2 separate regions of the Homo sapiens genome follow, and region 2 is linked to region 1. Evidence: promoter capture Hi-C in 16 types of primary human blood cells and fetal thymus (Javierre and others, 2016). All regions are on one chromosome and are shown on one strand. Each heading gives the region's core, a stretch centred on a gene start or on the middle of the fragment in contact. The rest is flanking DNA. Distances are from core to core; before and after follow the strand shown. Region 1 holds the start of SLU7 (spliceosome associated SLU7). Region 2 holds the start of MED7 (mediator complex subunit 7).

Region 1 (5,246 bases), core at 589-3,088:
TAAGAGAAATACAATGCTAGTCCCACATGTAATTTTATGTTTTCCAGTAGTCACATTAAAAAAGTAAAAATAAACAGGTAAAATTACTTTTACAAGATTTTATTTAATGTAATATATCCAACATATTATAATTGCAAATTTGAATTAGAAAAAAAACAACTCTGTCTTTAAAAGTTGATATGGGTTTTACACTTATTTAAACTAATCACATTTCCAGTCTCAATAACCACAAGTGGCTAATAACTATCATAACGAATAGTGACACCTGGGTGCGATGGTTCACACCTGTAATCCCAGCACTTTGGGAGGCCGAGGCGGGCGGATCACCTGAGGTAAGGAGTTTGAGACCAGCCTGGCCAACCTGGCGAAACCCCGTCGCTACTAAGCATATACAAAAAAATCAGCCAGGCGTGGTGGCGTGCACCTGTAATCCTAGCTACTCGGGAGGCTGAGACAGGAGAATCACCTGAACCCAGGAGGCCGATATTGCAGTGAGCTGATATTGCGTCACTGCACTCCAGCCTGGGCGACAGAGCTAGACTACGTCTCAAAAAAAAAAAAAAAAAAATGACGCTCCAAAGGATTTTATCATTCGTACTCTAAAAACTGACATCTTTTTAACACACCTACACGGTCCACCATGGTCTGGCACCTGCCTACCTTCCAGCCTCACCATTACAACTATCCCCGCTTCCTTCTCTACTAACTACATAGACCTTCTTGTAGTTCCTCTAGTTCCTCTAACAAACCGTGCTCCCTGTAGACACTGGGCCTTTACACAAGCTCTTTCCCAGTGGAAAGTGCTCAATGCCTGGGGGTCTACGATGCTTCTCAAAGGTGTTCTCTTCTATGTCTGACCTATAGAAAACCTCCACATATATTTGTGTAACATATAAACTGATGGCCTAAATATACTGCGAAGAGAAGCACAACAACGGTAAATTTAATCTTTATTAAAACAGCTACCATTTCTCGAGCCTACCGTGTATCACCTCATCTAATCTTCACAATAAGCCCAGTAGATAGGTCTGATGAACACCATTTTACAGTGAAGAAACAGGTTCTGAGAGGTAAGATCCTCAGCCAAGAACACATTGTAGTAAGAAATAAGGACTTCAAACACAACTCTGACTCCAAAGTCAGTTCTCTAAACCAGTATGTTATACTTGTCCACAGAACATTGGCTTCTGGGCCTAAAATATTAAAAACTAAAACTGAATAAAGTATTATAGTCACCAAGTTGTACGCACTAGTTTCCGTCGCTGTGGAGGGACCTATTTTCTCCAACTAAAAACAGTAATAGCTCCCACTTACTGAGGGCTTACGTAAGACACTGTTTAGCGCTTTACTTACATAGATGTTTTCATTTATACCCGCATGATACCCCACTGAAGTCGGATCATCTCGACTTAACAGGAAAAACTGAAGCTCAAGTAAATTTTTCTGGCGAGGAAATACAGTCTGTCAATTTGGGTACTGGAAGCAGCTTTCCCTGCTCGCAGTCCGGGGATTGCTCAAGGTCTTCGAGGCACCGCCACAAAGGCGACACTCTCATAGTTATCCCGACTGTTTCCCTGAAGACGCAGGCCTGGCCTGGCAGGGCACGAGTGCCATGAATGGGTCTCAGGACAGTGGCTTTTCGGTCCCCCGTCCTCGCTCCCTCAACACCTGAGGGCTCATCACCCCCGTGAAGATATATCCAATAATTAGGAGCCTTCGACTCATTTTCTCAGGTTCCCCAACTCCCCGTCGCCCGCAAGTTCTAACAATATTTTCTTACCCAGCCCCGCCGCAGCTAGCCCCAAGTCCATCCGACAGAATCCAAGCCAATCTCGTAATGTTTACTTCCGGCTTTTCGCCTAATTCCGGCGGCCACTGCGGTAACTTCCGGATGACCGGCACATGCGCACTAATTTCCTGGCGGGGCCGGGGGCGGAGGGGGGCCCTCCAGTGCTCCTGCGCCGTGGGAAACGCGAGAACTCTAGCTGCTGCGTATCGCGCTATTTACCCGGCTTGTGGGGAGTTTCAAGTTGGGCGGCTACTTTTTGGCTTCTATTTAGGAGCTTTCTTTTAGAATCGGAGAATTTTAGGAAGTTAAAAAAAAAAAAAAAAGACCAGAACAGACAAGAGCTTAAGCCTCACCAGGGGACTATGAAATGAATGGGGAAGTTGGTGACGTATCAGCTTAAAAAAAAAAAAAAAGCAGTTAAACTTGGCACTAATTAGTAGCCAGGCTGTGTAACATGCTGGGGATTTGGTGAACAGTGTCTTCCCTCAGATTTACATCAGAGTGCGAAAGACACCGAAACAACTATTCAGATTTAGCAGCTGTGAAAAGTTGCTATGAAAAGAATACCAGGTGCTGTGAGAACATAAGGCATGTTATCATTAGAAAAAAATACGACAATTTCCATTTTGGAGAAACAGTATCTATGCTATCCCATCCCTTCTTTAAAAGTATACATGTGAAATAAAACACTGGAAAATAAACTAATTTTCGTGGTAGAATTTCTTGTGATTTTTTTTTTTCTTTGTGCTTTCTATTCTGGTTGTTCTCCCCCTCCCCCCCATAACGTGTATCCTTTTTGAATGTAAAAGTAAAAGTAGCTACCATTCCTGCCTCAATAAAATAGCCCAACATAATAGAATCTATTTTTTTCGTATTAAGAATTTGCAATACCTGGAGTTTAGGAACATAAATATTAATTTTGCTTTTACAGGGCAGTAGATGAAGAAACAGTGTCAGAGACTAGCGTGAAAGTGAATAGAGTCTATGAATCACTCAGGCTTTGTTTTTTTCCACTTAAAAATATTCCTGAAATTTGCTTAGGAGTGTTAAGGCCTAATTAGCCAAAACCACCAGGAGAGCGCATCTCGAAGAGGAATCAGAAAGCGCAGGACAAGACAGTTGAATCTTTTCTAAGACTTGAGGTCCCTCTGGAGGGTTCTGAGGAAGGTCTAGGAAAGCCGGGATTGGTTCTGGATGGGTTGCTGTTTGTAAAGAAGGATTGGGAGAAACTGATTAGGGACTAAGTGCTGTTATGAGTGAGGGTGGTTTAGCAATTGAGTATTTCCAGTAATAGGAATAGCAAAGCTGGTCTGAGGGCATCATTAGTAAGAAAACAGTGGTTATTCAGAGAGGGTGGTTATGGTTTACAGCTGCTGCATGACCTTAGGAGAAACAATGCTTTCTGTTGGTGAAAAAAAGAAGACATCCTAAGACAAACCTTGCACCTCAAAACCTCTGTAGATAGAGAATCCCCACTTGGAAGCTATAGGTGTTGTGCAGATTTAGTCTTAAAAATTAACACTTTGAGTGCTGATAATATAATATGATGATGTAAAATTTAGGAGATACAGGAGGAAATAAAGGATGGGGATAAAGGAAAAAGAACAGTGAAGGGACAATAAAGGTATGCATATTTTTCTGTCTTTCCTCTTTTCTTCACCTTAAGTTAGGCTCTTTTCTTATAACCTAGTATAATGTCCAGCATTTAATAGGTATTCAATAAATATTTGTGAATGAATGAATCATTCAATCAATATTGGTCCTGAAATGCCAGGGAAAAAGAGATGATGAACTGGCATATATTGAGAACCATGTCTATGTCAGGTATAGTGTCAAGCCTTTCGTGAAAGAGTAATATGGAATCAACTCCTCTCTCTCAGCTGATCTGCAGCTTAAAATGCATATATGGTGAACTGTGGGAAGCGGAGTTTGAATGACACAGGTCAGCCTTATGTTTTAATTTATATCTTCATCTTGTAGTTGTTCAATGTATTCCATTTTACTATAGAAACAGGAAAAGGTCGTCAACTTTTTCAAGCAAAATTTCTTTTCATATCTGGGAAATTGGAATTCCTTTTTTATATCTTTATTATCTCTCTGATATTCTCTTGCTCCCTGGCCAAGCCCTTCCAGGCAACTTTGGTTAATATATTATTGAGATGTTAGAGGTTTAAAATAAATCACTATCAAAGGATAGAATTTTAAGGGAAGACTAAATTATGTATTCATTAGAATCATAATTTTGTTCCTAAGACAGATTCGTGATGGTATAATAGAAACAGTGTCTTAGCCTGAAGTATTGAGGATAGTCCTAAGATTAGGGAACGATCAGTTCGTTCTTAATCATAAGCATAAGAGAATGACTCAAACGCTGCTGTTTGATCTACCTGTACTTACATTTCTTCTTAATTTTAAATTCTTCTCTGCTAGTATTCTTTAGACCCAACATTGGTTGTTTCCCCTATTTCTTCAATATTTCTATTTATTTTCCATCCTTTTTACAGGGTCATCTAAATAAAAATATCTTAAAGCAATAAACCATTGTTATTGAGTCAGTACCTCAGTCCATGCAGCTTAATAATATGGAGAGCAAAAAAAAAAAGCCTCTCGATTTATTTTTTAATATTACACGATCCTAGTTTTTTCTTCCCAGAAAACGTGCCACAAAGTTTGCAAGAAAGAGCTTTTGGGGCGGAGCCCTGGCTGCTTAGGTCCTTTCCATTGGTTCTACTTGGTGACCACGCCCACGGCCCCGCCTCCTGGGCGGAAGAGCCAATTGGGCCGCGAGTTGTGGTTTAAACCAGGAGTGCGCCGCGTCCGTTCACCGCGGCCTCAGATGAATGCGGCTGTTAAGACCTGCGTGAGTGAATGGGAGGGTCGCGGGTGGTTAGTTGAGCCGGCTCCGGCGGGGAAGGAGGCGGGCTGCGGCTGCGGCTGGGGCTGAAGCTGGGGCTGGGGTTGGGGGACTGCCCGGGGCTTAGATGGCTCCGAGCCCGTTTGAGCGTGGTCTCGGACTGCTAACTGGACCAACGGCAACTGTCTGATGAGTGCCAGCCCCAAACCGCGCGCTGCTCGGGACCTTAGAGCCTCTGACTCAGGCTGGAAGATTTGAGAGCTGGATTAAGTACTTGTTGGCTCACGCCCGTGACTGTTCCGCTGTTTAGCTCTTGTTTTTTGTGTGGACACTCCTAGGATAGAAAGTTTGGTATGTTGCTATACCTTTGCTTCTCCCACCTTCCCCAATATCTAATATGTATTTCTCATTCTTAGAATAATCCAGAATGGCTACTCTGATCTATGTTGATAAGGAAAATGGAGAACCAGGCACCCGTGTGGTTGCTAAGGATGGGCTGAAGCTGGGGTCTGGACCTTGTAAGTATACAAGGCTGCAGTCGGATACACTGGTATTGTGGACGTGGCCTGGAGCTGGACGAGACATTTAGTGTACTTTTTGGGC
Region 2 (5,477 bases), core at 1,199-3,698, 3.3 Mb before region 1:
GCCTAGGTATACCATCCAATGAGAAGATCCTTAAGTGCTCCTTTAGATTGGTGTTATCAGAGTTTCAAGATATAACACACTCTAACATCGGGTGGGGCAAGTATCCTACTAGAAGCAATATTATACTTAGAATTCGTGAGGTACTGAGGGCAGCTGTGGCGCAGCCCTGAGTTTCCACTATGCCACAGTGGTGCATAGGATGATGCAGCCTCGCCCTCCTAGGCTCAAGCGATCCTCCCACCTCAACCTCCCAAGCAGCTGGGACTACAGGCATGTCACCAAGCCCGGCTAATTTTTGTATATTTTGTAGAGACAGAGTTTTGCCATGTTACTCAGGCTTGTTTCAAACTCCTGAGCTCAAGCAATCCTCCTGCCTTGGCCTCCCAAAGTGCTGGGATTACAGGCGTGAGCCACCACACCCAGACATTTTAAAACTTTTAACATAAATTCAGATTACAGAAAAAGTGCATGAATACACAAAAAACACTTCATATTCTTCACTCAGATTCTCCAAATGTTAACATTTTCCTTCATTTGCTTTATTGGTTTTTCATTCCTTTACCCCTGAATACTTCAGTGTGTTTTCTCGTGACAAGAATGTTTTCTTCTACCCAAAGCACAATTACCAAAATCAAAGAATTAACAGTGATCTGGTACTTCAAAATACATTTTTTTTTTCCCTGAGACAGTGTCTCGCTCTGTCACCCAGGTTGGAGTGCAGTGGCACGATCTCGGCTCACTGCAAGCTCGGACTCCCGGGTTCACGCCATTCTCCTGCCTCAGCCGCCTGAGTAGCTAGGACTACAGGCGCCCGCCACGACGCCCGGCTAATGTTTTCTATTTTCAGTAGAGACGAGATTTCATCGTGTTAGCCAGGATGGTCTCGATCTCCTGACCTCGTGTTCCACCTGCCTCGACCTCCCAAAGTTCTGGGATTACAGGCGTGAGCCACCGTGCCCGGCAGAAAATACAATTTTTGACAGCTCACGTTTCATCCCACTCAAACCTTTTTAGGTGAGGAGTGCTGCTCTGTACTTTCCTACACGATGTGCATTCCTGTATTGCGGCTGCCATTTTCCTAAGGCCAACTACATGACAGGTACCATTTTTTATGGCCTCTGTAACATAATCTTCATTAACAATTCTATGAATTAAGGTTTTTGGGGTTTTTGTTGTTAGTTTTGTTTTTTGAGACAAGGGCTCAATCTGTCTCCCAGGCTGGAGTGCAGTGGTACCATCAGGGCTCACTGCAACCTCTGCCTCCCGGGTTCAAGGGATTCTCCTGCCTGAGCCTCCTGAGTAGCTGGGGACTACAGGTGCGCACCACCACGCCCAGCTAATTTTTGTATTTCTCGGTAAAGACAGGTTTTCACCATGTTGGCCAGGCTGGTCTGGAACTCCTGACCTCAAGTGATCCGCCCACCTCGGCCTCCCAAAGTGCTGGGATTACAGGCGTGAGCCACCACACGGTCCCACGAATTAAGTTCTATTATCAATTTCATTTTAGAAGTGAGGATCCGAAGTCTCAATGAGGGGAAGTGTTGCCCCAGATCAAAAGGTTAATAAATGGCACAACAGGAATTCTTATCCCAGGTCCCTTTAGCTCCAAAGGGCAAGCTCTCTTATATCCCTAAGCCGAGAAGCATCTAACTGTACAATAAGGACTGGCATATCACAAAAATTATATTTCTTTCTCTACTGTCTCTCTAGATGGAACTTTTCAAAGGTGATGGAGGTCTTATTTTTAATAAAAGCAGAGCCAAGCATCAGAGCTGGTTCTTAACTCAAGATCCAACATCTAGTGTTTGTTCTACTGGGGGAGAAGGAGCTTCACCAGAAGACGACAGACATTCCAGGGTCCCAGCCCCAGAGATTTGATTCATTCTGTCTACTGTGAATGGGCCCTAGAATGTCGCTTTTAAAACCTCTCCAGATGGACCTGACGATTAGGCTTGGGATCTACCGCCCTCGCCTGCCCCCATACCTCAGCTGTTTCATAACTGCTCCCAGAAGAAGGAAGGGCAGGGAGGGCTACTCTCATGTTACAAAGAGCCGGAGAGGGCAAATGACTCGCCCAAGGCCACACAGCTTAGAAAAACAGCGGCGCGGGGACTAGACGCCAGGTCTCCCAACCTCCACTCCGGCTCGGCGTCCCAACACGGAGGAAGCCCCGAGACTGCCACGCTTAGAGCCCCCTCCTCCAGGCTGTCCACCCCGAGGCCTCCGCGCTCTCGGAGAGACCGCACTCTCGGAGAGACTCGGGAGAGAAAGACGAAAGACCGCCTTTGGAGGCCGAACTCAGCCATGCCTCCCCAGTTCCCAGCCCAGCACAGAGGAAGCTGCGGGGTCCGGAAGAAAAAAACGCACACAGGCGGCGGCCCCAAACCGTTGCCGCCCACTTACCTCAGCTCTGGCTTTACACTGGTAGCCGCCTTCCCCTCTGCAGCCGAAACCAACTTCCGGTCTCCTCCGGGAAGAAGCCACCGACTCTGTCCTTGATTGGCTGTAAGAGCTGTCCTTTAACGAAATTCTAGCTCCGCCTCAGACCGATCCCTCGCTGTTGCGCCTACGTATGTTTGACTCCTCCCATCCACCCGTTACTGACTTTTAAAAGTCGTAGCTGAGGGTTCCGTTTCTTCGTTTCTTTTTGAATTAAGGCATAAAATTGAACAAGACACCTTATTGCTTTATTTTTTATAGACCCCTTATTGACCAGAAACAATCTTATGTTTTAATGTTTAACATGCTCTTGTAAGACTTAACGTGAATTTAGAAATTTATGACACGAAAATAACCTCCAAAAGAAACGCTTGCTATTGCGCCTGCGTATATTCCACCCCCTTCCCCATTACCACTCTTTTACTGACTTAGTCGCTGCTGGTAGTTCCATTCCTTTTGTCCTTTTTTAATTTAACGCATACAATTAAGACGTCTTACATACAAATTCGAAAATATAGACATGCAGGGTTTTTTTGTTGTTTTTTTCTTTGAGACGGAGTCTTTCTCTTTCGCCCAGGCTGGACTGCAGTGGCGCGATTTCGGCTCGCTGCAACTTCAGTCTCCGGGATTCAAGCGATTCTCGTGCCTCAGCCTCCCGAATAGTTGGGGTTTCACCTATTTTTTTTTCTTTTTTTTGTATTTTTGGTAGAGACAGGGTTTCACCGTGTTGGCGAGGCTCATCTCGAGCTCTTGATATGAAGTGATCCGCCCGCCTCGGCCACCCAAAGTGCTGGGATTGTAGGCGTGAACCACCACTTCCGGACTCCCCCATTTTAAATCCCTCGCACGTATCAATTTATTTCCTGAAGAAATCCATCTACGTTGAGCATAACCCAATCCAGCTTTTCTCCTCACCGCTGACCCCAATGTATCCTGCACCAGTGACTTCCAATGGTCGTTCCCAGTCCTCATTTTACTCCATCTGTCAGCAGCATTTGGCACATTTGATTAATGGATTGCCCCAGGACTCAGTTCTCCAACCACTTCTCAGTCAGATATCAGCTGGATGATTACATGCAGGCCCTGGAACACCGTTTCCTCTGCACTTCAGACCCTCATATCCAGTGGTGACAGACATCTTTCCCCAGTTGCACTTTACTCAATTGCAAATGTTCAATCGAAGGAATCACCTTTTTCTCCTTTCTCACATACCCCACCGAAACTACCATACCAGCCTTTTGCATTAGATCTATTTAAAAATAAGTAAATAAAGTTCCAAATATGACTGACCACCGTTCCCACTGCTATGGTCCTATGCCATGCCACCATTATCTCTCACCTGGACTTCTTTGATTTTTTGTCCTCCCTTAGTCTATTTACCACACCTTCTTAAAATATAAGACCGGTCTTATCACTCCTCTATTCAAAATCCTCCAAGGCTTTCTATGACTTTTAGAATAAAATCTGACATCCTTCCCCTGGCCTATATCACAGGCCCTACAAAATTGCCAAGTACATCCCGGCCTTGGGGCCAATGCATTTGCCTGGAACTCTTTGCACAGATATTGACACGTCTCATTTCCTTCTTTCCTTTTTTTTTTTTTTTTTTTTTTTTTTTTTTTTGAGACGAAGTCTTGCTCTGTCACCCAGGCTGGAGTGCAGTGGCCCAATCTCGGCTCACTGCAAGCTCCACCTCCCAGGTTCACGCCATTCTCCTGCCTCAGCCTCCCCAGCAGCTGGGACTAGAGGCACACGCCATCACGCCCAGCTAATTTTTTTGTATTTTTAGTAGAGACGGGGTTTCACCGTGTTAGCCAGGATGGTCTGAATCTCCTGACCTCGTGATCCGCCCGCCTCGGCCTCCCAAAGTGCTGGGATTATAGGCGTGAGCCACCGCGCCCGGCTTCATTTCCTCAATTCATTCAGGTTTCTGGTCAAATGTGACTTCAAAGAGTTCTTCTGGGGTTACACTACTCTATGCAAAATAGCGCATCCCTAATCTTTCTCTTGGGAGATGCCCCTGAAACCCTTACTATGTATTATCTTTTTTTCATAGAACCTCTCATCATCTGAAATCATCTTACATAGTATATTTATGTATTTTATTGCCTTTCTTATCCATCAAAAATATCAGGTTTATGAGCATGGGACCTTTGTTTCATTTACTGCTGTTGTGTTTGAACCTACATACAACGGTGCCTGAAATTGGCAAATACTCAATAAGTGTTTATTGAATAAGAAACAAAATGAATACAATCATCACTTTCAAATAAATTCATAGCGTGGCTTTGGTGGTTATACCACAGTCTCTTTAGCCAGATCCTCATTGTGTTAAATTATTTTTCTCCAAATTTGATCCAGTGTAACTACACAGGATGATGAGATCCCAGTACATATATGTTTGTGCATGTGTCCAATTTTGTTCTTTGAAATAAATTTCTAGAAATAGAATTACTGGGCCCAAAGGGGCAGTGTCTTAACAGTTAGTAGCAGAATCAAGGCTAGAATCTTGGACTCTTGACTATCAATCTAGTGTTCTTTCCAATAAACTTCAAATGAATAATGGATATGAAGTCCATATCATGAGAAGGGCTAGTGACAATATGATGTGTGTTAAACATTTAATTATATGACTATATTGGCAAAATCTCAATGGAAAGCTTATTACTTAAAGATGCCTACTACAGCTTAACAAGGAATATGCTCGTTGAATAAATCTGTATATTGTGTGTCTGTTGTGCCGGCACTGGTCTAGAAGGCTAAAAAGACAGACAAAAGCCAGTGGGGCCTTTGAAAAAAGTGTTCTTTCTAGAAGGTGTTCTAGAGAGACACAGACAAGAAGTATACAAACAAGTAAAAACTTCGAATAGTGGTAAGGGCTATGGGGGAAAGTATAATACAGATTAATGTGATAGTGACGTGGGTTGGGGAATAGCTACTTTACACAGGGTGGTCAGGGTAGCCTCTCACAGAAGGTTAACTTTGGAAACAAAATATGAAGGAGTGAATTCTGCAGAGATCTGGGAGACAGCAAATGC

The links. The method cuts DNA at HindIII sites, captures the fragments that hold promoters and counts their contacts. A CHiCAGO score of 5 or more calls a contact.
Region 2: the fragment with the promoter of MED7 here is called in contact with the fragment with the promoter of SLU7 in region 1 in 6 of 17 cell types (naive B cells, total B cells, neutrophils and 3 more); the score reaches 14.4 in naive B cells.

Annotation. Positions count from the first base shown.
Region 1 is chr5:160,417,243-160,422,488 of GRCh38, forward strand. SLU7 (spliceosome associated SLU7) reads right to left here and starts at 1,839. Exons shown (of 16, transcript NM_006425.5): 1 at 1,781-1,839. PTTG1 (PTTG1 regulator of sister chromatid separation, securin) reads left to right here and starts at 4,613. Exons shown (of 6, transcript NM_004219.4): 1 at 4,613-4,649; 2 at 5,060-5,161. The coding sequence starts at 5,071. RefSeq lists enhancers at 1,551-1,600, 2,051-2,170, 2,181-2,250, 4,862-5,246 and silencers at 4,448-4,507, 4,608-4,767. The HindIII fragment of the contact is 5,685 bases long and covers 1-5,246 here.
Region 2 is chr5:157,140,417-157,145,893 of GRCh38, forward strand. It overlaps MED7 (mediator complex subunit 7), which reads right to left and starts at 2,449. Exons shown (of 2, transcript NM_004270.5): 1 at 2,404-2,449. RefSeq lists enhancers at 2,117-2,166, 2,977-3,076. The HindIII fragment of the contact is 9,177 bases long and covers 1-5,097 here.